Regions from separate parts of the Homo sapiens genome. Here all the other regions are linked to region 2. Evidence: promoter capture Hi-C in 16 types of primary human blood cells and fetal thymus (Javierre and others, 2016). All regions are on one chromosome and are shown on one strand. Each heading gives the region's core, a stretch centred on a gene start or on the middle of the fragment in contact. The rest is flanking DNA. Distances are from core to core; before and after follow the strand shown. Region 1 holds the start of BNIP2 (BCL2 interacting protein 2). Region 2 holds the start of MYO1E (myosin IE). Region 3 overlaps RNF111 (ring finger protein 111). Region 4 overlaps RNF111 (ring finger protein 111). Region 5 overlaps SLTM (SAFB like transcription modulator). Region 6 holds the start of CCNB2 (cyclin B2).

The links. The method cuts DNA at HindIII sites, captures the fragments that hold promoters and counts their contacts. A CHiCAGO score of 5 or more calls a contact.
Region 1: the fragment with the promoter of BNIP2 here is called in contact with the fragment with the promoter of MYO1E in region 2 in 1 of 17 cell types (monocytes); the score reaches 5.2 in monocytes.
Region 3: a contact is called between a fragment that was not itself captured here and the fragment with the promoter of MYO1E in region 2, in 3 of 17 cell types (naive B cells, M2 macrophages and total B cells). The highest score is 5.8, in naive B cells.
Region 4: a contact is called between a fragment that was not itself captured here and the fragment with the promoter of MYO1E in region 2, in 2 of 17 cell types (M1 macrophages and M2 macrophages). The highest score is 6.4, in M1 macrophages.
Region 5: a fragment that was not itself captured here is called in contact with the fragment with the promoter of MYO1E in region 2 in 1 of 17 cell types (total B cells); the score reaches 6.3 in total B cells.
Region 6: a fragment that was not itself captured here is called in contact with the fragment with the promoter of MYO1E in region 2 in 2 of 17 cell types (M2 macrophages and M1 macrophages); the score reaches 5.6 in M2 macrophages.

What each region holds. Positions count from the first base shown.
Region 1 is chr15:59,688,070-59,692,396 of GRCh38, reverse strand. BNIP2 (BCL2 interacting protein 2) reads left to right here and starts at 3,077. Exons shown (of 10, transcript NM_004330.4): 1 at 3,077-3,262. RefSeq lists a silencer at 2,800-3,309 and an enhancer at 2,723-3,371. The HindIII fragment of the contact is 5,510 bases long and covers 2,167-4,327 here.
Region 2 is chr15:59,370,414-59,374,974 of GRCh38, reverse strand. It overlaps MYO1E (myosin IE), which reads left to right and starts at 2,104. Exons shown (of 28, transcript NM_004998.4): 1 at 2,104-2,477. The coding sequence starts at 2,475. RefSeq lists enhancers at 1,816-2,320, 2,321-2,824 and a silencer at 2,840-3,159. The HindIII fragment of the contact is 5,897 bases long and covers 1,997-4,561 here.
Region 3 is chr15:59,085,449-59,089,974 of GRCh38, reverse strand. It overlaps RNF111 (ring finger protein 111), which reads right to left. Exons shown (of 14, transcript NM_017610.8): 10 at 4,190-4,316; 11 at 216-308. Among named protein-coding and RNA genes, the nearest start is that of CCNB2, 17 kb to the left of the region's middle. The HindIII fragment of the contact is 1,282 bases long and covers 679-1,960 here.
Region 4 is chr15:59,001,017-59,005,562 of GRCh38, reverse strand. The region is part of intron 1 of RNF111 (ring finger protein 111); the gene reads right to left. Among named protein-coding and RNA genes, the nearest start is that of RNF111, 16 kb to the right of the region's middle. The HindIII fragment of the contact is 981 bases long and covers 2,502-3,482 here.
Region 5 is chr15:58,926,108-58,930,982 of GRCh38, reverse strand. The region is part of intron 2 of SLTM (SAFB like transcription modulator); the gene reads left to right. Among named protein-coding and RNA genes, the nearest start is that of SLTM, 5.1 kb to the left of the region's middle. RefSeq lists an enhancer at 3,102-3,601. The HindIII fragment of the contact is 351 bases long and covers 2,261-2,611 here.
Region 6 is chr15:59,104,745-59,109,605 of GRCh38, reverse strand. CCNB2 (cyclin B2) reads right to left here and starts at 4,460. Exons shown (of 9, transcript NM_004701.4): 1 at 4,314-4,460; 2 at 2,156-2,284; 3 at 1,936-2,049. The coding sequence starts at 4,337. RefSeq lists an enhancer at 4,648-4,861. The HindIII fragment of the contact is 1,818 bases long and covers 754-2,571 here.

The DNA.
Region 1 (4,327 bases), core at 1,828-4,327, 320 kb before region 2:
AGAATCACTTAAATCAAAAAGTGGAGGCTGCAGTGAGCTGAGACCATGCCACTGCACTCCAGCCTGGCAACAAAGTGAGACCCTGTCTCAAAAGAAAAAAAAAAAAGGAACAATCTAAAAGTTCAATAAAGGATTGTTTAATATATACATTATCCATAATGAAAATAATAGCATTGGAATGTATTTATTGACTTGAAAAAGAGTTCATAATATATTTTAATTATTTATTTTTATAATATAGATTCCCATATCTTTCCATAGACTGTAGAGGGTGAAGCCTCAGAATCTGTATTTTTATTTATTTATTTATTTTTGAGACACAGTCTCACTCTGTTGCCCAAGCTAGAGTGCATGGTGTGATTTTGGCTCACTGCAACCTCCACCTCCTGAGTTCACGTGATTCTCCTACCTCAGCACCCCCAAGCAGCTGGGATTACAGGTGCCCACCACCATACCCAGCTGATATTTGTAATTTTAGTAGAGACGTGGTTTCTCCACGTTGGCCAGGCTGGTCTCGAACTCCTGACCTCGGGTGATCCACCCACCTCAGCCTCCCAAAGTGCTGGGATTACAGGTGTGAGCCACTGCACCCAGCTCATATTTTAAATGAAAAGAAGAAAATGGAGATTATAAACCACTAAGTACATTATCTGATTTTTATAAAGACTTATATGTGCAATTTATACATAAAATATATATGTGTGTGAATATATATATATATATAATCTGAAAGGCTATACATAAATATGTTAATAATAATTATCTTTTTGGCTTACTTGTAGTTTGTAATGTTTCAACAATAAGTATGGATAATTAACAAGATAGGGATAAAAAGATAAGTAATAGGATGGCTTACTCGAAACCAAAGCAAACACTGATCAAGCTTATTAAATAATAAAGTTACTAAAATGAAGAAGGAACTGAAGATCTTAAAAAAAAGAAATCACATAACTATATATGATTTCCAGTGATTTTCTGCCACCCTGTGGGGAATTCTGCACATTGCAGAACTGAAGAAGCAAAGTATGAAACTACAAAAACTTCTGTAAATCAAGATGAAATTTCTTGGCCCAAGTAGTTGTTTAGCTAAAGCTCTGTTGATCAGTTTTGTTTTCTCTACTAGCTATTTAGTGAAATTGCTAGACTAGGATAAAAAGAATACCTAATACTTAAATGTGATTACAATATGACAACCAAGGTCCTAATACATATATATGAATTCATCTCACAAAAACCCTATAAGGTAGGTACTATTTTCTTCCCATTTTATCAAAGAGACGGACTTTAATCTACCAATGGTGGGTAAATGTTGCCAAAGCAATGTGAAATCCAGGCAGAATGCTGCATTTTTAGTCAATGATTTAAAATTTTGAGCTTTTCTGTTCCCCTCAGGCCTGATCGTACCCCAATGGAATCACCCAAATACTTGATGCTGAGCCTTTCTATGGATTTATCAGATGAAACTTTGGAAAGGGACTTTTTTTTTTTTTTAAGACAGGGTTTCGCTGTCACCCAGGCTGGAGTGGAGTGGCGCGATCTTGGCTCACTACAACCGCCGCCTGCCAGGCTCCAGAGAGTCTCCCACCTCAGCCTCCCAAGTGGCTGGGACCACAGGTGCATGCCACCAAGCCCACCTAATTTTCTTCTTTTCTTTCTTTCTTCCTTTCTTTCTCTTTGCTTCTTTTTCTTTCTTTCTTTCTCTGTCTCTTTTTTTTTTTTTTTTTTTAAGAGATGGGGTCTCGCCATGTTGCCCTGAGGTCTGGCGATCTACCGACTCGGCCTCTCAAAGTGCTGGGATTACAGTCATGAGCCAGCACGCCCAACTGAGAGAGACTATGATGTTCTCCAAACAAATCTCATTTGGTTGAAACTCTACAGCTGAGTATGGTCTAATTTGAGTAGTTTACCTTGAGTACTCTAACCATGGTCTATAGACCTGGGCTCTTCTGAGAACTGTTTGCAAATGGTTCACAGAGAGAGAGTAGAAAACTCTATGTCAATTTTGCAGGTAATTTTATGGCTGTTAACTCTAACGATAAAAAGTTTTGACTTGGACTTTGTATGTCTTTTCATTTTTCTGTTTTATTAACTTGTCAAAAACTAATTGAAAATTGAAAAAAATAAACCGACCGTTCCCCCAGTGAAGAGAAGCACTGCTGTAAAGCTTTTCACACTCAAATATTACCAAACTCTAAGGTCGCTTCTGAGGCCTAACTCCCCAAAATGATGCCTCGGATATTTTTCCTCGCCTTATTTCTTTTTTTTCTTTTTCTTTTTTTTTTTTTTTCCTTTTTCCTTTTATTTGAGACGGAGTTTTTGCTCTGTTGCCCAAGCTGGAGTGCAATGGCACGATCTCGGCTCACTGCAAACTCCAACTCCGCCTCCGCCTCCGCCCTCGCCTCCTGAGTAGTTGGGATTACAGACGCGCGCCACCACGCCCAGCTAATTTTTGTTTGTTTAGTAGAGACGAGGTGTCACCATGTTGGCCAGGCTGGTCTCGAGCTCTTGACCTCCGGTAATCCACCCGCCTCGCCCTCCCAAAGTGCTGGGATTACAAGCGTAAACCACCGCGCCCGACCTCCTCCCCTTATTTCATCCATTTTATAATTCACATTATTGATCGCTGATAATTGCACCTATTGTAATGATACTGATAATTGCACCTGTTGTAATAATATTGATATTGATAATTGCACCTATTGTATTACAATATTATTATTGATATCGATAATTTCACCTACTGTAATGATCAATAAAGGCAGGCAGAAAGAAAACAAAAGTAACTGAAACTACCAGGCAGCGTCCCTGCGAACAGCAAAGAGGGAAGAAACGCCTTGAGGCGTAGTAACGCCACCAATAAGGAGTCGACGCGACGGGTCCGCCCACAGGCAAGGAAGGCCGACCCCGCGAGTGCAGGCGCGAGCGCTAGCCCGTGACGTCTGAGGGGGTTGGGGGGATGCTGTGTGGGTTTCAAGAAGACGCCACGCCTCCGCCGCCGCCACGCCCCCGCCGCCTCCACCGCCGGCTGCCGCGCCCGGAGGAGGTCGGGATGTTATCACTTCCGCCGGGGCTTCTCACTGTGTCCGGGTCAGCTGCTGCCGCCGACGCCGTACCGCTGCGGCCGGGGGATTGGGCCGGGGTCTCCACCGCCGACCGAGGGGAGCGGGCTCCGCTCGGCCCTGCTTTTTGCGACCTGGCCGTCAGCCCCACGTCGCCGGCCTGGAGGGGCGAAGAGGACGAGGGGGCCAAGGCTTCCTCCGGGGTGAGTGCGGCCTGGGAGAACTCGGCACGGTGGCTCCGGAGCTGGACTGGGAACCGGCCTAGGGGCGAAAGTCTGTCGGGCGCGTGCCCACGACGTCCGGGGAGAGGAAACCCAGAGAGTTACCCTTGGTAGGGGGAGCCATAGAACCTGCTCGGGAGGTGCTTCCTGGATCCCCGCCCTGCTTAGGTCCCCGCCCTTGGCTTGGGTCCTGTTTGTATTTGGCAGTTTGGCCCCCCACCCCGTCGCTTTTCCGTTTCTGGTAGTTGTGCTCGGGATGGAACCTTGCCCCTCCTCCGCTCCCCCACCCTTTTACCCTGGTGTGGGTGAAGTGGCTGGGCTACGATGGTTCAGTATTTATGACCAGCGTCCGTCCTGGTACAGAACAAAGAAACTTGGACTTCTGGTATGCCTCGTAACCGCGGGGAATAGACACGGAAGCAGCATAAGTAATCAGGGCTTTAATAGATCTTCCCTAGTACGCTAAACCAAATACAGAGTGTGTACGTCAAAAGCCGAGTCCCCGCGTGAATCTAGACACAACCCTTTCTGTTTAAATACCTGGCAAAATGGTTTGGATTTCTGGATGCATTTCATGCCGCTGGAGAGTTACTTGTCTGTGTCTTGTGAGCTCTTTGACGAAACAGCTTTTCCGGTGTTGCATCAAGATAGTTACGGTGCCTCCTATTTATTTAATTGAATAAACTATGTGATTGCATTTTAGTGTTGCTTTTTTCATTCTCACCTTCTCTTGATTAGGATCTCTATTTCACCTAATACCTGATTTCGTATTTTCAATTAAATGTAGTTTTTCTAACATTTTATAGGAATCTCTGCAATTGTAGAAACAAATTCTGTAATTTGTAAATGGATGTTTCCTCAAAGTTACAACTGACCTTACCCAATTAAGTTACCCCTGCAGACTAGTTTCTTGATCATTTTGCACATATTCTTAGTTCTTTTTGGTTTACATTTTCTCTAAACTCTATTCCTAGTCTTCATATTCTCTAGTGCAGCCTAATACTGCTGGGCTTAGACCGGAAGTATGACAGATCCACTTCTGCAAAC
Region 2 (4,561 bases), core at 855-3,354:
TATTTCCCTATGAGATATGGAGTCAGACTTATCTGAGACTTTATCATGTCTGTGTGTACCTAGGCAATGCCTAGTACAGATGGCATGCTGTTTTCTTTCCAATTCATACTACATAACTATGTCAGATGAATTTCCTGCCCTAAACTATAGCTCCAAATATGGCAGTTCCTTGCACAAAACTACTGTCGCATTTCATTATGCTTGCTTCTTTCCTGTATTTATTCTTTCTAAAAATTTATCGTTTGTTTTCCCCATCCTAAAATTGTAAGCTCAGTGAGGGCAGGGACCAGTTGTAGCTCCAGTGTTTAGCTGTGCTGTCTTATAACACACATTCGATTATATTGTTGCCAAACTATGTAAATGATTACTACAAGAATTTGGACAATATGATTTTCTTTCAACTTTTAAAAGTGAGATATAATGAACGTACCATAAGACTCACCCATTTAAAAAGCATAACACAGTGGTTTTTAGTATATTCATAAACTTGTACAATCATCACCACTAATTCCAGAATATTTTCATCACTTCAATAGGAAAATGCATACCTGTTAGCAATTACTTCCATCTCCCCTCTCCCCCAGCCCCTAGCAAACCACTAACCTACTTTTTATCTCTATAGATTTCCCTATCCTCAACTTTCATTTAAATGGAATTATATAATATGTGGTCTTTTGCTCCTGGCTTAACACGATATTTTCGAGATTCATCCATGTTGTAACATTTTGTTTACCCTTTTAGACAAGATAAAGTTTAATACCCTTTCTAACTCTATGCTCAGATAGTCAAGTGAAGAGCTACAACCAAATTTCTTTTTCCTTTCTTCCTTTCTTCTCTCTCTCTCTCTTTCTTTCTTTCCTTCTTTTTTTTTTTGACAGAATCTTGCTCTGTCGCCCAGGCTGGAGTAGAGTGGAACGATCCCGGCTCCCTGCGACCTCCGCCTCCCCTGTTTAAACGATTCTCGTGCCTCAGCCTCCCGAGTAGCTGAGATTACAGGCATGTATAACCATGCCGGGCTAATTTTTGTATTTTTAGTAGAGAAGGGGTTTCACCGTGTTGGTGGCCAGGCTGGTCTCAAACTCCTGACCTCACGTGATCCACCAACCTCAGCCTCCCAAAGTGCTGGGATTGTAGGCGTGAGCCACAGCGCCCTGCCTCAACCAAATTTCAGAAAGTATCATAATATCATTATGCTTCATAGTTTCTCTATGCCCTGAAGTTTACCAATTTTATCTTCTACAGATTCCAGGAAGGCAGCCTGTTAAGACTCACCAAATTTACTTCCTCAGCCTCCAGAACAATAAAATCAAACTCCCTACCTTGATTTTAAGATTCTGCTTCCCCCCACCCCGCCCCACCCCAATCTTCTCCTTGGATATTCGACAGTCTGGAATAATGCATTTTTACAGTTCTGATTGTTTTCAGCAGATGTGTTGGCTGAGGTTGGATGGGGTTTCTTCCCACCTATCTCTCCTCTCTCCTTCCCTCTGCCCACTGCACGTGCAACAACTTTTCTGCCATCAAAACGTGCAAAAAAGAAACAAGAAAGAAAGGAAAGAGAAAGAAAAGAAAAACAGAAAAAAGAAAAGAAAAAGCAGCCGGAAGTCTTCCTTTGTTTTCCAAGGAAATTCAGGTAAAAGGAGGGGTGGGGAAATGATATTTTTGACTTTGCTCACAATCCAGACGTAGGAAAGAAAAAGGATTTCCTTTGGGCTGCTGCCACGACTCTGATGTTTTATGCTGATAAAATATTTCCTTCTTAAAAAAAAGTTCTGGGAAAATCATGCCCCTTCAACTTGGAAGCGAAACCCACCCTAACTTTCGTCTTAAAACGCAGCGAAGTGAAAGGTTTGCTCCTCTTTCACGAGGGTTTTGTTCCTTACAGTTCGGGTCTTGCTACCAGGAGCGAGCTGGGTCCGCAGCGTTCTTCGGTGGCTGGCGCGGGAGGAGGACTACAGGATCCAGAGATCTTTGGAAACTCCAGCAGCTCCAAGCTTGTTGGCTACTACGGTTTCCCTGAGGAGTGACGCTACGAAAACAAACCCTGATTGGTCAGGCCTGAGCTGAGTTCTCCATTTATGGACAGATTGCCCGGCCCGAGCCGAGACTCAGCCAGAGGAGTACGGATTAAGTGGCCGAAGAAAGAGGAGTGAGGCAGGGGAGCGAGGCGGACGCTCCGAGCGCATCGGACTCACCTGGGCCGGCGGCGACCGGCGAGTACGAGTGGACTCTTGCCCTCCGCAGCATGCGCCCCGCCTGCTAAGTCGCCGCCGTCTCGCCCTCACCTAGCACCGCCAATCCCGCCTGGATGGAGTCCCCTCTGGGTTCCCATTGGCTCCTGTGAGTGCTTGGGTGTCGGGAGCCTGTTTTTGGCGAGGGGAACCAACTTTTGAAGTTCGCCCAGAAGACTGCGTTCCAGCCCCAGTTCCCCGGCAGCGGGACCCGGCGAAGACGCGACCGCGGCGCGAGTCACCATGGTGAGTTGGCCGCGCCGCGTCCTAGGACGCCGGACCCGGGGACGGGGCAGGAAACCCCGGCGTGGTGCACCCACCTTGGGCGCGCTGCCGGGGCCAGGGGTGGAGAAGGTGGACGCGGGAGCCGGCACGTCGCGAGCTCTGATTTCCTGCCGCTTTCCGTAAACCCGGGCCGGGGGAGAGCGAGCGAGGGGCCAAGGAAAACTTTATTCCAAGTCGGTTTCTGCGTCGCGAAACTTTCTGTGGCCGGGTTGCTATGGCTGCCAGCTGTCGGAAGCCAGGGTGTGGGCGCATCGGCTGCGAGGGGCACGGCGCGGGAGGGGGTCCCCTCCTCCTGCTGGGACGTGGGGGGCGCAGCCGGCAGGGGAGGTGCTCGGAGACTCGCGCCGCAGCCGCTGGCGGCGTCCCCTGCCCTCCCCGCGGCCGTGCCCGCCCCGCCCCGGGCACCCTCGCGCCGACTCCCTCTCCTCCCCGCCGCCGCTCCGCTGCCCGGCAGCGCCCGCAGCTGTCCCGCCTGGCAGCGGCACGCGGGCGGGGGCGGTCCCTGGCCCGCCTTGGCGAGGGGCGGCGCGGGCCGCACAAAGGCAGGCGGGGGCGCCAGGTAGGGCGAGCACCTGGCGGCCGGCGGGCTGTCAAGAGCCAGGGAGACTCGGGCGCGGGCGGCAACCACGCCGCCCCGGACCTGTGCCGGGCGCCGGCCCCGAGGGTCTCCGCGCCCCGGACGCCAAGTAAACACCTCCTGAAGAGGACCCCACCCCTTCCCAAGCGCGAGGGGATCGGGGCTTTTCGGGGATCCAGGGGACGCTTCGCACGGGAAGACGCCCTCGCGAGTTTCGAGTTTGTTGCTGTTTTCCCTTTGGCACTTTGGGAATGTGTGGAAGGGGCCGCCTCTTTGACTTGTGACTTTTCTGCTATTCCAACTCCCCAGTCCAGCTACACTCCCCTCCCTCCCTGTATAACCTTAGCCACCTCCCTTGGGCTTTGGCGTGGTGTACTTTTCTTTGCGGGGCACGAAAGCAAGGACTCTATTTTGAAGAGATCGGCAGTTCATCAAAAAAAAAAAAATCTATTACAAGGCTTCATAGTTTCCACACTTGCTTCTTTTCAAGTAGTCCTGCTTAGGTGGATTATCTCGTCCTCTTCTGGTTTGCTGTTGTTTTCTAATGGCTGTGGAAGAGAAGCCAAGTCAAAATGATAACCAGCACAACACTAATTAAAAAATCGATATCCCGGTGAGCAGCCTGAGGGAAGTGCAGCAGAGGCCCATCGAAACCTGCACACAAAGCTCAGAAGCCCCCTTGCCCCGTGCTGTTTATTCCAAAGAATGATTACAAACAAACATCAACGAGAAACCTTTCAAGGCATCCTCGGCCAAAGCCTTTTCTTTTTACATAGTCCAAAATTAAGTCACTTTTGCCCCATCTAAGAGAACACTTTGTCTATACATTTCCTCTTCTAGTTTTAAGGTTTAAGAAGTCAGTCTACTCTACGTTACTTTTGGACCCCTTCCCTCACCCCAGCAGAGAACCATTCCCATTGGGCATGTGTTTGGGTGAAGCTACCTCACTGGGCACCTGGTCCCTTGAAGCAGTGTGATAGTCCTGGTACTTGAGAATTGCTGTAATCATTTTCCGTGGGTCAATATTTCTTAAAAAAATCAATGTGTTTATGTCAAGAACTTAAAGAATCTTACTGAATTTAAGTACTTGAGTGGTACCTTGAGGAAATTAACTTCCCCTCAGTTAAACTCATTTTTCATGCTGAATGGACTGAAATATACTCTAGGTTGCCTTTTCCGAAACCTGTGATACCATGCTTAATTCAGCCCCATTGCAGATGAAGTAGAGGGTTGGTCAAATGCATGCGAAGAAGGCATGCTGTAGGGAAGAGGTGGTTCTATCTGAGGACAGTGTGTGACTTCCCTATTGATGGGCTCCCTGCCATCAGCACAGATGGGCATGTTGTGTGCCCCCAGGCGACTATCTGTGCATCAGATATGGTTGCTGAAGTCACAATTCACTGATGGAAAAGTTGAAACAGCTGGCTGTCCTGAAACAGGAGATGTGCCATTGATAGATCTACTGGAT
Region 3 (4,526 bases), core at 70-2,569, 280 kb after region 2:
TTTCATTTACTCATCTTTAAATATTTCGGTAACTTTTGACCCTAAGATTAATAATACTTACAAATATTTCTGTAACTCCCAGAAGCAACATCAGAAAATCACATGTGATTCCCAGCCACTGTAGCAGTCCTACACAATTGTGTATAGTAGTATATATATACTCAATCTGCATTAAAGATACTGTGACAAACATATTCATTTATTTTATTACATACCTCAAAATTGCCCCTGAAAGGACCTCTGAATGATGTTCCATCCAATCCTGATGAAATGTAACGGATGTGAGGATAGCCTGCCATATCAGGAACCTATTTCAACAGAAGAGATAGGCTAAATCAATTTTAAGAATAGACTTGTGATTTACTGTTAACATTGAATAATTCAAGACCCTCAATGTTTTCAATTCAACTGCTCATAAAATTTGACTTCAATAAGAATACATAACTCCAACTAAGCATTCTGTAACAGGTTTAGGTTTCTGTTAAAATATAACCTAACTCTCCAAAATGCCCAAACTTAAGCCTGAGGCTCTTAGTAGCTCAAACTTGAAAAGAGTAAAATTGTCTTAAGATCCTGTCCATTTCAGAGAGCTTTATTAAAACAACAACAAAAAATGCACACAATTTTCCAACAAAATTCGACTTCAAGATAAGTTTTTTACTTCACTTCTGTTAAGCTTCCTAACAGCCAAAGTACCCTATGCCTTTTTTGCTTGATTCTATTAGGGAAACTTTTAACACTGTTTTCTAATTTTTTGTTAGTTACAGTCAATCTTCATTATTTATGGATTACATATGTGTGAACTGACCCACAGGCTAAAATTTACTTGTAACCCCATAATCAACACTTGTGCTTTCAGAGTCATTCGTGGATATGACCGGTGGCAAAAAATTGCAGTTGCCCAACATGCAACTCTGTTCCCAGCTGAGGTAGAACAGGGCTCTGCCGTATTTGAGCTCCTACTATAAACCAGTGTCTTGTTTGCAGACTGTTTAGTGCCACGTTTTTCACAGTTTTGTGCTTTTTGTTGGTGATTGTGTTGTTTAAAATGGCACCCAAGCATAGAGCTGAAGTGCTGTCTAGTGTTCCTAAGCAAAGAAGGCTGTCATACACCTTATGGAGAGAATAAGTTTCATTCACGCATGAGTTACAGTGTTGTTGGCTATGAGTTCAATGTTAATGATTCTACAATATTTTTTAAAGTTGTCTTTAAGCAGAAACACACATAAAAAAGGTTATACACTGATTAGTTGTGAACAGAGGTTTGCAAGGGTCCCATATTTGCTAATTCAGTGTTTGCAGCAACTGTATAGATCATAACTGCCATGCATAGTGAGAGTATTAGGAAAGGGCATTTCTGAGATACAGCACCATTCTTCCATCTTTATAAATAAATCTCTGACATTACTTTTTAATTAGCCTACACTGAATCACAACATACTTTAAGCAGAATTTATAGCTTTAACGGACACTTCATATGTGGAAAAGAATTTAAATAAGCAATAACTTTTAACCTTCAATAGCCTATTACTTAAATTGTTTACAACTTTTCTTATAACCAAGATCATTACTACTCAGCAGATAACCCAACCTCCTAAACATCTTCAAAGAAATCGGAAAGGAACTCCTGCATCCCAAATTATCTAAATCTTCACTTACCCTGAAAAGCCTCTCCTCCCTAGTCTCTTTCCTCCAGCCTTTATGGATGAGCTTTTCTCCTATTCGAACTCAATCCTTATCACCCACTCCTCCCTTCACCTGTTCACCCTGGGTCATGCTTACTTCACTACTTCCCACCAAGCCTCTCTCTCTTCAATATCTTCAAACAATTCCTCTCTAATGGTTTTCTGTCTTAAACCTGAAAATACCTTAAGTTTTTCCAAACCTAAATTCTCTACTAATCCTGGAATTACTGCCAACCAAATAGGGGTTTCCTTCACTTTCCCTTCACAGCCAAGCTTATAAAGCAAGAAGGCTATATTCACTGTCTCCATGTTTTCACTTCCTTACCGTACGTAATCTAAGAGGTGCCCCATCTACATCACTCACCATTACTGAACCATTCTGACACAAAAGACCAATAACCACTCTACTGCCAAATGCTTTCAATACTTTTCAAACTTTATTTTTTTGTGATGACACCATACTGACCATATTACAGTTCACCCTTGAACAACATAAAATGGGTTTGAACTGCATGGGTCTGCTTACATGTAGATTTTCTGCCACCTCTGCCACCCCAGAGACAGCAAGATGAATCCCTCCTTTTCCTACTCTTCAGCTTACTCAATGTGAAGACAATAAGGAAAGAGACCTTTATAATGATACACTTTCACTTAACGAATAGTAAATGTATTTTCCCTTCCTTATAATTTTCTTAACATTTTTTTCTACTTTATTGTAAACTATCATTATCTATTGTAGACTATCATTATCACGTACTTATAACATACAGAATATGTGTTGATCAACTGTTTATTTTAGCAGTAAGGCTTCCGATCAACAATAGACTATTAGTAGTTAAGATTTTAGGAACTCAAAAGTTATACTCTGATTTTCGACTGTGAGGAGGGTCAACACCCCTAACCTCTGCATTGTTCAAGTGGTAACTGTATTTTCTGATATTATTTTAACTGTGTTTCTCAACTTTTCAAGCCAGTTCTCAGAATCCTTTGTTCAAAGCATAGTATTATCATTTAAATACAGTATTGTCATTCTCTAAGGTTTTTTCACCCTCTTGTCACTCTGCACATTTTTCCTGAAAACCTAATCCTCTTCCATGGATTCATTACCTCCATATACTGACAGATCAAAACATATCTTTAACCCAAATATCTTTGGAAATCCAGACCACAGGCTTAACTTCCTATTGGACATTCAACTTTCATAGAGATTCAGTACATCCAAGACCTAACTCACCTAACCCCTTCACCCAAACCCTAAATATCTCTCAAATGTGTATCATCATTTTTATGCCAACTACAATTGCCTTCATTCAGGCATTCATCAATATTTACCTCTTCTACTATAATGTCCTAACTGGTTTCCCACATTTACATCTATTTTTCCACATAACTGAGGAGGTGATCTAACTATAATCTGATTAAATAACTCTAAAATCATAAATTTGATCAGGACATTTCCCCTTCAATGGTTCCTGAGTTCCAGTTTCTTGGTAGAACAGTTTTATTTCTCACTGCTGCCTGACCCTCACTCCTAAAATTAGAAACACCAGCTTACTTGGAGTTCCCAGTGCTTGTGCTATTTGCTACATCTTTACATGCTGTAACCTCTGCAAGAGCACCATTCCATAATCCAGTCTGCTTAGAAGTCACATGTACCAGAAAGCTTCTCTGAAAGCTTTCCTGCAGTGCCTCTACCCACAACAACACAAAACTATTCCCTTTTCTGTACCATTTATATAACAAGTATGTAATACAAACAGCAAACGCAATGTATGTTTTGCTGAACTTGTCCTTTAGCACTTTACAAAATCTGAACCTGCTTAAATCAGATGTAGAGAATTAGTATAATCTTTCTGCAGATTAGAAAATCAGGCTGGGTGCCCTGGCTCAAGCCTGTAATCCCAGCACTTTGGGAGGCCAAGGTGGGCAGATCACTTGAGGCCAGGAGTTTGAGACCAGCCTGGCCAAATGGTGAAACCCCATCTCTATTAAAAATACAAAAATTAGCCAGGCATGGTGGCACGTGCCTGTAATCCCAGCTACTTGGGAGGCTGAGGCAGGAGAATCACTTGAACCCAGGAGGTGGAGGTTGCAGTGAGCTGAGATCATACTACTGCACTCCAGCCTGGGTGACAGAGTGAGACTCTGTCGAAAAAAAAAGAAAAAAGAAAATCAAGTATGACTGCATCAGAACGGATCTATTACCACTTACGGCAAAATAACTGAAGCACAGTATACTCCTGACAGTGGATTAAGAGTATCTTGGTATACAAAAAACCCCACACTTTTTTGTCATGTCGTACATTAAGAGTACATGTTATGATGCAAATTATACGTGCAGATTTTAATACATCTAATACCTTTTTATAGCACAATTTTAGCTAACAAGATTACTCTCAAATTCTATTAAAACATCTATATTAATATAGTGAAGTATTTCCAATAAAATACTTAGAAAAGGAACTTTTAGAACATGTCAAAATTTTGAAAATTTTCCATTTTACCATTAAAGGAAGAGCTCCTAATTGTAAGTGATGAAGTCGAGGAGGTGCGTGATAATGGGCCAAGTGAGGATGCAATGCACCAGGTGTATAAGTAGCTGCAGTCACTCCAGCTTCAATTCCCAGTTCCCTAACGAAAGGATGAGAACAGTTTAATCCTCCTTAGGGTCTCTTTTTTATCAACAGACATGGGGAGTTATGTTTACACTTAAAAAAGTAATCTAAGGTTTCTTAACTTACAAAGCTGAGGAAAGATAATTTAGCCCAAAATATTTAACTAATAATTTCAAATTTATTTTAGAACTGAAAGCTCTAAAAACTTAAATTTTGTGACAATGAG
Region 4 (4,546 bases), core at 1,743-4,242, 370 kb after region 2:
CAAAGCAAAGGTTGGAGTAACAAAATAAATAAAAATAAAATCAGAAAACTAAATTAAAAAGATGACAGCTGTCCTGAGAATGCGGGATCTAATGTTGGGAGCAAAACTGCCCAAGGAAACAATTTCTCTTTGAATGAAGTCCAATAAGTTTATTTAGATAAAATTTGTTTTTACTCTACATATATGATTTAGGTCAGTCAAAATATGTAATCTGGAGAATAGTAATGAAAGCCTATGTTCTAGAGGCTGGGTGCAGTGGCTCGTGCCTGTAATCCCAGCACTTCATGCAGGGAGGACTGCTTGTGCCCAGGAGTTTGAGATCAGCCTAGGCAACATAGGTGAGACTGTCTCGACAAATAAACAAACAGTATGTACTAAAGAAAGAGAACTTGAGTTGTAAGAGGAAAACCAGGAAGACTTACTGACACTTTAATGGCTGACAGTATAGGCATACTGAAAGTTGGAATTTGGGAGAACACCTCTAGATAGACATCAAGCCCATAAAGTGAACTTGACAAGAAAAAAATAATTTAAACCATGTAGGAGATTATGCTTGCCCTTCTGCTCACTGATTATATGCCTAGAATCAACACAAAATAGGAGATTAAATTTTGCTGCTCTCCACTGGGTCTCACTTCCCAAGTGTCTCTCAGAATGTGAGCATCTTACTATGCTGTCAGATTCTAATATTTAGAGCCATTTATTTTTCCCATATTATAGGCCATATACACAAACCTACTCTTTCTCTGATATTTAACAATGAAAACATGATTTATTCCAATAGTGGAGGGAAAACGGGAAGTGCTAGACTTCCAGAGACTGCATATTTATAATGTATATTTGGGCAACTTTAGGGATTTCCAAGGTTATCTTTGACTAAATGCCATTTTTGCTTTCCTTGGATCAGTATATTCAGACAGTGAAGTGAAAATTCTTGTTACAAGAAACAAAAAACACCAAGATATTAAACAACTCTAGAATACTGGTTTGGGGAAACCAAGAATTCATTATCCTGCATACTGATGTCAGCTACTTTATTTAACAAACCTTTTATGGTTTGAATTTTTACTGTACGTCACTGATCAAGGTGATAAAAAGATAGTAAGGTGCTACCCTTTCCTAACAAATTTCATATTCTAGATAAAAATAGTAACCTTAATCCTAATGTGAATTCTTGTACACGTTAAGTCTCATCTACACACATTTACCTATATACTTTTTTGCAATCTTCAGAATTTTAGTTTCAGTAAACCTAAACAGCAAGTTCCTTCTGTTGGAGATAATAAAAAGAGACAACTAAGGATCAGTAAAGATAATTGGGAGAGAAAAGAAGGAGTATTTTAAATTGAAGCTTGTTAAAGGAAGATAACTAAAAACAAAGTTGAGACCTTAAAACTGCTAATCCAGAACTGCCATCTATGAGGGAAAAAACATGCATTCACACTGGAATAAAATAAATAAATCCAAGAGTCTGGGAAGAGGGTTTCAAAAAGATCAACTCAGCTACGGCAAGGAGGATAAACACAGGATAGGTCACTCAAACTTCTTCCATCCCAAGCATCTGGAATGAGAACAAAACCAAGAAAAGTCAATCAGGAAAGAGAAATTAATTTTACAGTAGCTTATTAATATTTTAGAAGATACAGTATCACTGACAATACATTAGCTATCACTTATTCATTTATGGTTCTCATTCAATAAATATTTATTGAAAGCCTATAATGAGCTAGGCACTTGTTTTAGGCACTGGCATCAGCCACGAACAGGACATAGAAAGTCTTTGCTCTCATGGAAATTACATGCAAATGAGACCAAAAAACCAAGATAATTTTAGAGCGAAACACGTGCTATTAAGAAAATACGCCACGTGCAGTGGCTCACACCTGTAATTCCAGCAGTTTGGGAGGCTGAGGCAGGCAGATCGCTTGAGCTCAGGAGTTCAAGACCAGCCTGGGCAACACGGCAAAACCCTGTCTCTACAAAAAATTTTAAAAAAATTAGCTGGGTGTGGTAGCACGCACCTGTAGTCCCAGCTACTGGAGAGGCTGAGGTGGGAGGATGGTTTGAGCCTAGGAGGTGGAGGTTGCAGTAAGCAGGGATCATGCCACTGCACTCCAGTCTGAGCAACAGAGCCAGACTCTGTCTCAAAAAAGAAAAAGGCCGGGTGTGGCGGCTCACACCTGTAATCCCATAACTTTGGGAGGTCAAGGTGGGCAGATGGCTTGAGCTCAGGAGTTCCAGACCAGCCTGGGCCACAGGGCAAAAGCATGTCTCTACAAAAACTTAGCTGGGTGTGGTGGTACATGCCTGTCCCAGCTACTCAGGAGGCTGAGGTGGGAGGATCGCTTGAGCCCAGGAGGCAGAGGTTGCAGTGAGCTGACATTGAGCCACTGCACTCCAGCCTGCGAAACTGAGTGAGACCTTGTCTCGAAAAAAGAAAAAAGAAAATTAAACAGGCAGTAGGATCACTTGAGGCCAGGAGTTCAAGGCTGCAGTAAGCTTTAATAGCACCTGTGAATAGCCAACTGCAATCCCGCGCTGGCAACATAATGAGATCTTATCACAAAAAAGGAAGAAAGAAAACAAAACAAATGTAAAGGTTGACCATCAACAGGATCCTCTCTAAGAAGCTAAAGACATGAATCATGACAAGAAACTAGCCACTAGTCAGTCAAGCCACACAATTCTAGAGGAAGAGTATTCCTGGGAGAGAAAAAATAGGAAAGACTATGTGACAGGAATATGCCTAACAGGTGCAAAGAACTAAAAGAAGGGAAGTGGAAGGAAAGGGAAATGGCACACAATGACATCAGAAGTAGTCAGGGCCAGATCAGGTAGAGCCTGTAGGGAACTGTGTGCCACATTTTTATTTCATTTTATCTTTACTAAGAACTATAGGGAACTGAAGATTACAGAAGTGACTTGCCTAAGACCTGATAGCAAAGCCTGGATCTAAATGACTATCTAAGTTGTTGAGTTTGGTCACTCTCTCTCTTTTTTTTTTTTTAATTAAATGCACAGTTATGAGGGCTTTCACTCAGAACTTCAGTTCCCATGACTACTTTTACATAAGATTATTACATATGTTACTCAACCGTACTTCCCGTATTTACCATGCAGATTTTCAGGAACTTGTCCCTCACATAAGAATGTTCTAATAAAGCATGGTAACTGCTACAAATAACAAAGTACCAAATACCATGGGAAAACGGAAGGGACAGCTATTAATTCTAAAGGAAAAACCTGAAAGAAGTTTAAGAGTTGATCTTTAAAAGTAAAATTTCAAGTGGAGAATAAGGATAAGGATACATCAGAGAAATGGCGGGAAGATAGTCAAGAAAATAGAATGGTGAGTTTTAACCAACACTATACAGTAGTCTCCCCTTAACCACAATTTACTGTCTACGGTTTCAGTTACCTATGGTCAACCATGGTCCAAAAATATTAAAGAAAAAACTCTAGAAATAAACAGCTCACAAGCTTTAACCGCTTATGAATGCCTACACAGTGCCCATGTCATTAACCTCATTTCGCCATTTTATCATCATTTTCCGTCATCACAAGAAAGGTGAGTACAATATTTTGAGAGATGACATTCACACAATTTTTATTAAATATAGTTATAAATTTTTTTATTAGTTATTGCTATTAATGTCTTACTCTGCCCAATGTATAAATTAAACTTTATAATAGGTATGCATGTTGTGGCTGTTAAGCATCTACTGGGGGTCTTGGACTGTATCCCTCATGGATAAGGGAGGACTACTGTACTTAGTTCTTTAAACATGATTTCATAAAAAATAAAATAAAATCCCATGATAATGTATGTTTTGTAGGTGTTCTGTAACAAATCTTATATCACATGATTTTCTTCACTTAATAAAAGTATTAAGTATTTTCTATTAAAGAACCTAGCTGTCAAAATAGACTTAGTCTTCCTAAAGTGAACCTATTCGCCAAATGTGGAGAGCCCATTTCCATGTCACTAATATAACTTTTTCCTGGTAAAACTGTCATGATTATCAAAAGCAAAAGTTCACATTTTTTAAAAACATGGTAAGTTATACAAGACCTTTATTTCAAATCTCCCTCCAATCCCCACTAAACTGATAGTAAAAAGAATTTTTTTTTAATCAACAACAAAAATAGGAACTAATAGCAGGCAAAGTAGAGATGGCAATAGAATCCTGTTACCTGATTGACAGGAAATCCAGAAAAGAGAAGAGAGGTAAAAAATGGCTAAGAAGTTATCAAAGGCAATGTAAATATTTCATATAACTGAAGAACATGAACCCTTCATACCTCTGTTCTCAGAGACCACCATTCTCCTCCTCACCTACTCCACTAAAGCCCCAGTAGTTTCTAGGCTATTTCTCAAGCAGGTCAACCATGCTATGGCTAGTCACGCTGCCTTGAATGCTCTTCCCCCAGATAACCACGAGGCTCACTCATTCACTTCCTTTACATCTGTGTTCAAATGTTTCCTTATCCATGATACCTTCCCTGACCACCTCACATTAGTAGTTAATACCAACATTAAAATTTT
Region 5 (4,875 bases), core at 1,187-3,686, 440 kb after region 2:
CATAGTCCCAGGTTGTTTGAGTTGACTATTATTTTAGCATTGAAAATAAACATGATTTATTCCTTTCTCACCTACTTTTAATTTCTCTGTATATCCCTTTTTCAGTTTTGACTAGGAACATCATTTATCTCTTATTATTAGAAATAATTTCAGCAATATAAAATTTTAAGGGTTTTTTCAATACATTTTATGACAGGTATATATATCTATATATATGATATATAGATTATATATAGGTGTATATATATCATATATGATATATATATATATTTTTTAATAGGGTATTGCTCTGTTGCCCAGGCTAGAGTGCAGTGGTGCCTAGCTCTTTGCAGCCTCAAACTCCTGGGCTTAAGTGATCCCTCCCACCTTAGCCTCCCTGGTAGCTGGGACTACAGGCATGTGCCACCACAACATTTTAAATAAGTAAACATTATTTATTTTTATCAGTATGTTTGCTAATTTTTTTCTTTGTATGGGTTATACTTGAACTTTATTCCATAACTCTGATGTTAAGAGGTCTTAAGGTATTCAGTTAGAAGTTGTAACATTTGGGGGCCGGGTGCAGTGGCTCACGCCTGTAATCCCAGCAGTTTGAGAGGCTGAGGCGGGTGGATCACCTGCGGTCGGGAATTCGAGAGCAGCCTGGCCAACATGGCCAAACCCCATCTCTACTAAAAATACAAAAAAAAAAAAAAAAAAAATAGCTGGGCATGGTGGCGCGCGTGCCTGTAGTCCCAGCTACTCGGGAGGCTGGGGAGGCTGAGACAGGAGAATCGCTTGAACCCAGGAGGTGGAGGTTGCAGTGAGCTAAGGTCACTCCACTGCAGTCCAGCATGAGACCCCATCTCAAAAAAAAAAGAAGTTGTAACATTCAATCATTTGTTTGTAGCAGGCCTCATTCTAAGAGATGCATGACAAAAAGCTCTAGTCTTCTTGAAATCCGGCTATCATTGTTATGAAAATCTTGTGAATTACAAAGAATATAATGTAAATCTCCAACTCCAAACAGTTTGAATTAATTTACAATAAAGATGCTTATTGATTCAATTATTTTATTTTTATTATTTTTAATATGAGAGATTTTGAACCCAGTTTACTTATTAAAGAATGCTCTTGTCTCAAATTCCAAGCGCTACTGATCATCTTTAGAGCCAGTTTTGCTTAAATGCGTCATACCAACTCAGTTCTAGCCTTCTAAAATGGCAGAGTTCTAAAATGGCAGAGATGTTTTCTCTGCCATTTTACAAAGTGATAAGATTATTTTAGGCCGGGTGCAGTGGCTCATGCCTATAATCCCAAAAGGCCAAGGTGGGAGGATCGCTTGAGTCCAGTAGTTCAAGACCAGCCTGAGCAACATAGTGAGACCCTATCTCTATTTTAAAAAAGAATTAAGATGTTTAAATAATAACTTTTAGAAACCAAATTTGTATAGGGAAACTTATTAAAATATCAATAATGAACAGATTTGAAAACCAAGGATATATTAAATATTGTTTTAATGTGATGTCCGTTTTTCTTTTCTTTTCTTTTTTTTGAGATGGAGTTTCGCTCTTGTCACCCAGGCTAGAGTGCAATGGTGTGATCTCGGCTCACTGCAACCTCCGCCTCCCGGTTTCAAGCGATTCTCCTGCCTCAGCCTCCCGAGTAGCTGAGATTACAGGCATGCGCCACCACTCCAAACTAATTTTGTATTTTTAGTAGAGACGGGTTTCTCCAGTTGGTCAGGCTTGTCTTGAACTCCCAACCTCAGGTAATCCTCCCGCCTCGGCCTCCCAAAGTGAGCCACCGCACCTGGCTGATAATCAGTTTTTCAATCAAGTTGCTGAATTACTACATTCAATTCTTTTTGCCAGATCTTGTTTTACTTACTGGTATCTACATTGAAAATAATTTCATCTTGGTTATGCCACTTTTCCTTCAGTGCGCCTGTTTTCTCTTTTGTAAAACTGGAAATTTTACTAGGTCCCCTGTAAGGCTCTTTTAGTTCTGAAATTTAATAATTATATAGACAAAAATGAGAAGAAAATGCTTTCTGTTTAACTAAAATGATGTTTAAGGAAGCAACAGGTAAGCTCATAGGAAATCAGTATCGTTTTTCTTCAGCACAAATTATTAGAAAACGAAAAGTGCCAAGAAGGGGATTACGTAGAGGTAATTATGTAGACATCAGCGAGACATAATATATAATAGCTGGTCAGGAAAAGAAATGATTCTTATGACAATATTAAGGTAGTGAATAAAAGTTAAATGACGAGAAGCTTCATAGGTATGGAAAAAATACTTTGGTGAAACATTGAGCTTATTCTTTTATAAAATAACTATAGGGTAACTTTCTTTTAAAAATGTATGTTAAAATGATTCTATTTAGAGAGGTTAGAGGGAAAGGAACCTACATTTTTAAGTTTCTCCTAGAATATTTTTTAAATGCAGCTATTACAAGCACAAACAATGTTGATAATGTTATAGTGGGCTCTGACATTTATATCAACATATTTATAAAATTCCTTTACATGTAGTTAATAGAGTAGATGTTTGTATCTTAGAATGGCTTTCCTGAGTCTTCACACTCTCTTTGTTATGAACTTTTAAATAAGTAACTTAGGAGAAAGCTTCACCCATTGAAGTTTACGGTTATATTAATTGGGTGTGTGTTTAAAAAGTAGTTAAACAGGTAGAGCTAACTTCTCATTAGGTTGTTTTAGAGATTATAGATTTAAAGACTTTTGGTTTACCTGATGCTGGCATATCCTTTTCTTTTAAAATTTCAACCTTTAAAGTCACCAATTAACTTCAGCAAAAGTGATGTGGTTAATCAGTACAGTATTTAGAACTATATGTAATGCAATACTTACCGACATTAAAACTAATTTGCAATACCTGGCAGCTTTAAAAAGACTAAAAATGATGTGTACAATCTGATTTTTCTTCTATAGAAACAAATATATTTTGAGGTTATAGGTTTGGCCAAACATCTAATGTATAATTTTTTGTGGAAAATACCACAGACTACATATTTATAATTAAGTACATGTTTACTCTGTAAAGCTTTCTAAAACTGGTATCAATTAAATGTAGTAATCAGCCATATAAAGCACATTTCATATAACACAGTATCATAGTGTACTGTAATTAGCTTTTTTCCTCCAGCTGTAGTATGTTCAGATGTTAAGTAACACTTTAATCAGAACTGTGGCATTGAGGAGGACTTTGGGCGTATAATTGTTATAGATATTTCTTAGGTACCTGAAAGGCTGAAAGCTCTGAAGGCCAGGACATAGTTTTTCATTTACCTCTGTCTCTGTAATGCCTGGTGTAGAGCATGGCACGTAATAAGTGCTCAAAAAATATTTGTTGAATGAATACTGAGGGCCTTTTTGGGGCTTTCTTAACTGCTTTTAGAAATACCTCTTTTGGGCCAGGCGCATGGCTCACGCCTGTAATCCCAGTACTTTGGGAAGCTGAGGTGGGCGGATCACCTGATGTCAGGAGTTTGAGACCAGACTGGCTAACATGGTGAAACCCCGTTTTTACTAAAAATACAAAAAATTAGCTGGGCATGGTGTTTCGCATCTGTAATCCTCGCTACTTGGGAGGCCGAGGCAGGAGAATCTCTTGAACCTGGGAGGCAGAGGTTGCAGTGAGCTGAGATTGCGCCATTGCACTCCAGCTTGGGCAACAAGATCATCATCTTTAGATAATCTGTTCATCTTTAGAAACTTGGTCTCAAAAAACAGAAAACAAACAAAAAAAAGAAATATCTCTTTTGGTGCCTATTTTAATTGCATATTTCTTTGTAAGAAGCAGGTATATCAGGGATTAATAGTTTTTATCTTTTTTTTAAAGGTGCCTCTCTCAAGAGCATAATGGCTTCTCCTTACACATTGATATGTAAAATATACTTACTTTTAGAACACATGAATCATTGCATCATCCTTTTATTCTTTACCACATTGATGCTGTGTTGAAAAGCCTCTGAACCTTGCTGGAATACTGTCCAACCTCAGAGGTTGTATATGTCATTTTCATTTCACAAAATTAGCCCTTTTATCGCAGCCATTAAAACATACATTTGGCCAGGCGCGGTGGCTCACACCTATAATCTCAGCACTTTGGGAGGCCGAGGTGGGTGGATCACAAGGTCAGGAGTTCGAGACTAGCCTGGCCAACATGGTGAAACCCCCTCTCTACTAAAAATACAAAAATTAGCCAGGTGTGGTAGCATGTTCTGTAATCCCAGCTACTCTGGAGGCTCAGGCAGGAGAATCACTTGAACTTGGGAGGAGGAGGTTGCAGTGAGCCGAAATGGTGCTGCTGCACTCCAGCCTGGGTGACAGAACAAGACCCTGACTCAAAGAAAAAAAAAAAAAAAGGTAATCCAGAAAAGTACAAAAAAGTGAAGATTACCCGTAATCCCACCACCCTGAATTTATCATATGTAGCATTTTACATATGATATATATACATGTTTATAATTAAGTACATGTTTACTCTGTAAAGCTTTCTAAAAGTTAATCTAATATAGTAATCAACCACATAAAGCACATTTCATATTACAACACATGTTGATCTAAGTTGTGTAGGTGTATGTGCAAGTACTTACAGGAGGTTTATGTTTAAAGGTTTTTTCCCCCCTTTTCAACAACTAAAATAGATTCACACCATACATGGTGTTTTGTTGAAGGTAGATAGAACTTAAATATTTCTGTAGTCTGGAGAATCAAAAAACAATAACCTTCCGTCTATATTCTTCTCAACAGCTTCTGTAAATAGATTCACTTGTCTTAGTGGCTCATGATCTGCACTCTGCGTTAGTCATTTGAATTTTAAAAAATACAGATAGCAGGCTTTCACTCCCCATAGAGTTGGTTTGGGTTG
Region 6 (4,861 bases), core at 413-2,912, 260 kb after region 2:
TTAAAAGCAAATCTGGGGTTGCACTGTTTATATATTGTTATAATCTGATTTTTCCACTTAATGTTACAAGCATTTTGATGCCTTTAAATATTCTACTAAAACATGATATTTATGGCTGCATAGTATTTCCTTAAATGGATTTAACTAGGGTATTTCTCTACTCTATAAGAGACACTCATCATAGCACTATCTAAAAGTACTTGATTATCCCTCTGATCATTTTCTTTGGATAAAAAACAAAGCTACTGGGTATGGAGAATAACCATTTGAAATATACTACCGCCAGGCGCAGTGGCTCACACCTGTAATCCCAGCACTTTGAGGGGCGGGGGCAGGTGGATCACCTGAGGTCAAGAGTTGGAGACCAGCCAGGCCAACATAGTGAAAATCAGCTGGGCATGGTAGCATGCACCTGTAATCCCAGCTACTCGGGAGGCTGAGACAGGAGAATCGCTTGAACCCGGGAGGCGGAGGTTGCAGTTAGCAGAGATCGAGCCACTGAACTGCAGCCTGGGCGACAGAGCAAGACTCCGTCCCCCCCCAAAAATATATACATATACTGCCAAATCGCCCTCCTGCGATGTGGGAGGAACCACATTCAAACCATTACACATGTAAAACACTGCACAACTGCTAAGAGATCAAGGTCTGAAAACCAGCCTTTGGGTTTGGCTTTCAGGAGGTCACTGTTATAGAAACCTTCTAGGGAAGGCTTTTTAAATGAAGTCCCATCTCAACTACTTTTTCTAAGCTTTAGTTCTCATAAAGAGCAAAGAGCTTTCAACCATCATCTCTGTGAAGAAAGCTGACAAATCTGTTCCTTGCCTTCAGATGTTGCTGCCACATTTCCAACTGCATTTCCAGGCAGATGTCCCTCGGTTACCTCAACAAATCGGAAGCCAAACAGGATACCTTTACCAAAGCTACCGCCCTCTCCTGACTTTCCTACTTTTTGTTCATTTATTGCATAAATGGTTTATTTAATATCCAAGTGGGTAAGGATACCACTCCTGCAGTGCAAGCCATGTGTCCAAAGTATTCTTTCCTAAATACAAGATGAAAGACATTCTGAGACATCCTAACACATTTGATGTTGTTTCTTCATACCCACTATTGATACTGGTGTATGGGTAGGCGCTTAGGGAAGATCTGGGCTAGCTCCAGACCCTCATCAGCTCTTGCTTGGATAAGTGCAATACCTCCTAACTTACCTCCCTACATTGTTTTCATCATTTCGGTACTCCTCAAAACTTTGTTTCCTCAAGCCTAATGGGATAAAAATCCAAATTCCAAGTCCTTCAAATCCAACTGCAACCTTCTTCCCAGCCTTATCTTCTGGTTCCTCACTCAAGCCGCCTGACTCAGTTAAGTCTTTCAGACTCCTTAACGAAAGGACATGATTATAGGTCCATATCCGCTTTGGTACCTTGATCTTTGTTGCTACTTTGTTCTCCACAAACGTGCCCTTTCCTGTCAGCTATCATCTTCTCTCTACCCCTAAAAATCTCACTCATTCCATGAATTTTCTGAACCATTCTGTCCTTTATTTGGGTATTAAGGTAATCAACTTTATTATTCAGGGTCGTAATATTTATTTTTTTTTTTCAGAGACAAGGTCTTGCTCCGCTGTCCAGGCTAGAGTGCAGTGGCACCATTATAGCACATTGCAGCCTTGAATTCCTGGCCTCAGGCGATCCTCCTGCCTCAGCCTCTCAAAGTGCTGAGATTACAGGCATAAGCCACCATGCCCAGCTTCAAGGTCATAATGTTATTAAGTTAAAAGGTGTATATACTCATTTCCTACACTATTGCTTCAAAGCAGAGCTCCAGCTATGAATGTTCGTTAGAAGGTACAGCAATGATAAAGGCACCCTTGTAGTCTGGCTAAAAACAGGCTACCTCATTAAATACGTTTGTAAATTCAGAACTTCCTACCTTTGGAGCCAACTTTTCCATCTGTACTGGTTTGACAGAAGCAGTAGGTTTCAGTTGTTTGTTGACATTTGTTGTTTTGGTGGGTTGAACTGGAACTTTGGTGTTCTGAGCTTTCTATAAGGAAAAAGAAACATGAATAGCGCAAGACAGCCAGCGTTGTGGGACTCAGCACTATACAGAATCGGCCTCTGTATTCACATTCAGTCTTCATCATTGTTACCTTAGCTACTTGTGCTGCTCTGGTTGTAACTCTATTTCCAATTTCTTCTAAAACAGTTCGCCTAATAGTCACATGACTCTTAACTTTAGAATTAACTCCTGTGTCAATATTCTCCAAATCACTGGACACCTGAAAAAAAAAAAAAAAAGTAATGAAACCTTGAAAGAATTTGAAATACTTTGCTAATGTTAGATACTCAAATTTAGAATTGCTTTGGGAAAGGACAATACGTCAAGATCTATTTGCAAGATGGAAAAGGTACATTTCAGGAAGTCTAAAAATGCTATTTGTGATTAATAACATCACTCTAAATTAGGCAAATCACCCATCTACTTTATCCGTAATAAAGATCCTCCCACTAACCTTGCAAAGCTATTCTGAGTATTCAAGTGGGCCTGTAAGAGAACTTCAAAGCTTATTAGTATTTAATGATTATTTCTCATATAGTACCCATATCACTTGTTAGAGATCCCTGCAAGTTAAAGGCATATATTTAAAAACCTTCCTTTACAGAGCTTGGTAAAAAGTAAATTAAGATGAAAAATAATAAAGCTATAATATTAATAGTTAATAATAGGTCTGGTTGTTTAAAAACCAGATGTTTAAAACCTAAACTAGCTTTGATTCTTATGCCATTTCACAAATAAGAAATGCTCCTGTATGCATGATCTTTTAGAACTACAGCTTTTTAAAATGAGGTTGCCATAGAATGGATTTTCTCTTATATTAAGGACATTTAGAATGGAAGTAGTTTTCTTGAGTAATATAGTTTTAGCTCCCAAACTCAGGGAAGGTTGGAATTGTATGAAATAAAAATTGTCAGTTGACCTTAACCTGCTTTAGACATAATGTGCTTGGAAATAAAACTTGCTAGGAAAAGCAACTCATACCAAAAAAAGTTTATTATAGAAGTGATAAACATTTCATTAAAAAAGAAAAAAGCAAAAAACCAGCATGTCCTATCCCTGAGAGTTCAGGGTCCCGACTCTAATAAAACTCCCAACAAGGGGTTTGAGTGGATCTACCAGGCAGAGAGAGGGGCCAGGGAAACTCAAGCCTTCCCTGAACAGAAAGGTTTTGACTATTAAATAACGTTATAGAATACATTATTATAAAAAATTACTTGTCAGTTGGACTTAGATCCACAAAAGGATATTAATTAAATGCTAAATGTATTCAATCTATTAGGATTCTCAAAAGTCACACTTCAATTTCTTCCAGCAGCAACTGCCAATCTGAAAAAGTGTTTGAAAATGTAATGCTTATGGGTAGAAGCCTGGTAATGTGACTCAATTTAAATTCATCTGGATAGGAAAATTGGCAGCTTTTATCTAACCTTATAGCCAAGATGATGGAACTCAGGTGTGTCAGGGCCCTCTAGCTTTCGGCAAAGGAAAAAAGTAGGTCCCGGTACAATTCAAGCCCACAGGAAAAATACCCAAAACACCATAACACTTTGATCTCTGCAAGGATGAAATAAATGAATTTGGACCCTTTTCTCTCAGTCTGCCACATTGGTCCAAATTATATTCAAAAACCTCTGTTACATTTGAGTAAAGAAATTAATTTTTTAAGGGGACAAACCCATTTATTAGTGAACGTAGCATGGAAGACTTAGCGTGCCGAAATAAATGGGAAACTCATACAAAAAGAAATGTGAACAATCTGAAAAACAGCCTGGCAGTTGCCTGATGAAACACGCCGTACACTTTACTGCCTACAGAACCCTTCCAGTCCTCCTCCCAGCCGCCATCACAGGTCCCTTAGTTGGCAAGGAGTTGTAAGAAAGGGGGAGGGAAATCCCAGGAACGTGGAAGTAGATAACTCTCTAGCAATGAAGAGCACTCGGGGATCGCTCGCTGAGTACTAGGCCTAGTGCTCTGGGGGCTCACTTGACAGGCGCCATCTCGGAAGCGCTTTCCTACACTTCTCCCACCCCGGGGCAGGGAGGGGTTAGGGGAGGGCGGAATCCAGACGGGGAAAGGCGGGCCGGAGAGGACCGGCCGCAGGGCCAGGGACGCGGGCGAAGCAGTGAGCTCCGGAGAAGAGAAAAGCAGCCCCGGTTGGGACGGAGAAGCTCGGAGCAGATGAGAGAAGCGACAGGGGAGCTGTGGGGCCGACGGACTCGCCTCTGAGAGCGGTCCCCGGGCACACTCACCGTCGGGCGTCGGAGCAGCGCCATGAGGGACGGGGAAGGCAAGAGTGCCAGCCCGGCCCAGGGAGGGACGCGGACTGAAAAGGGAGGACACTAGCGTACGAGGCGCCGTTAGGACTGCTCTCCGAGCCCGCAGCGCTGGGGATCTTCGACGCTGTAGCCTTGTTCCAGGATTCAAATACCGCGTCGCTTGCGCCCCATTGGGCGGCCCTGCGCACGGGTCGCTGTTCTCATTGGCCAACACAAGATGCACTCTCGCACTCTCATTGGCTGAATTTTCTTAGACACGTTTGATTGTCACAACAGCCGGTTGGGGTGTTTTTTCTGCCTACAGTCTTTTAAAAAAAAAAAAACCCCAGTCTCTGAGACAAACAAAAAGGAACTGTCTCATTGGGAAAGCAGACGTAGGACGCCTCTGAATTTTGACAAGGCCTCATCTACGAATTTCTCTCGACGTTTGTAGTGGGTGGGCGGAAGTTGGTTGGCCTTTATTCCTCTTCTGGTGTGTTGGGGTTTAAGTTGTGTTGGCCTGGGTGCAGGAACCGGCCCCT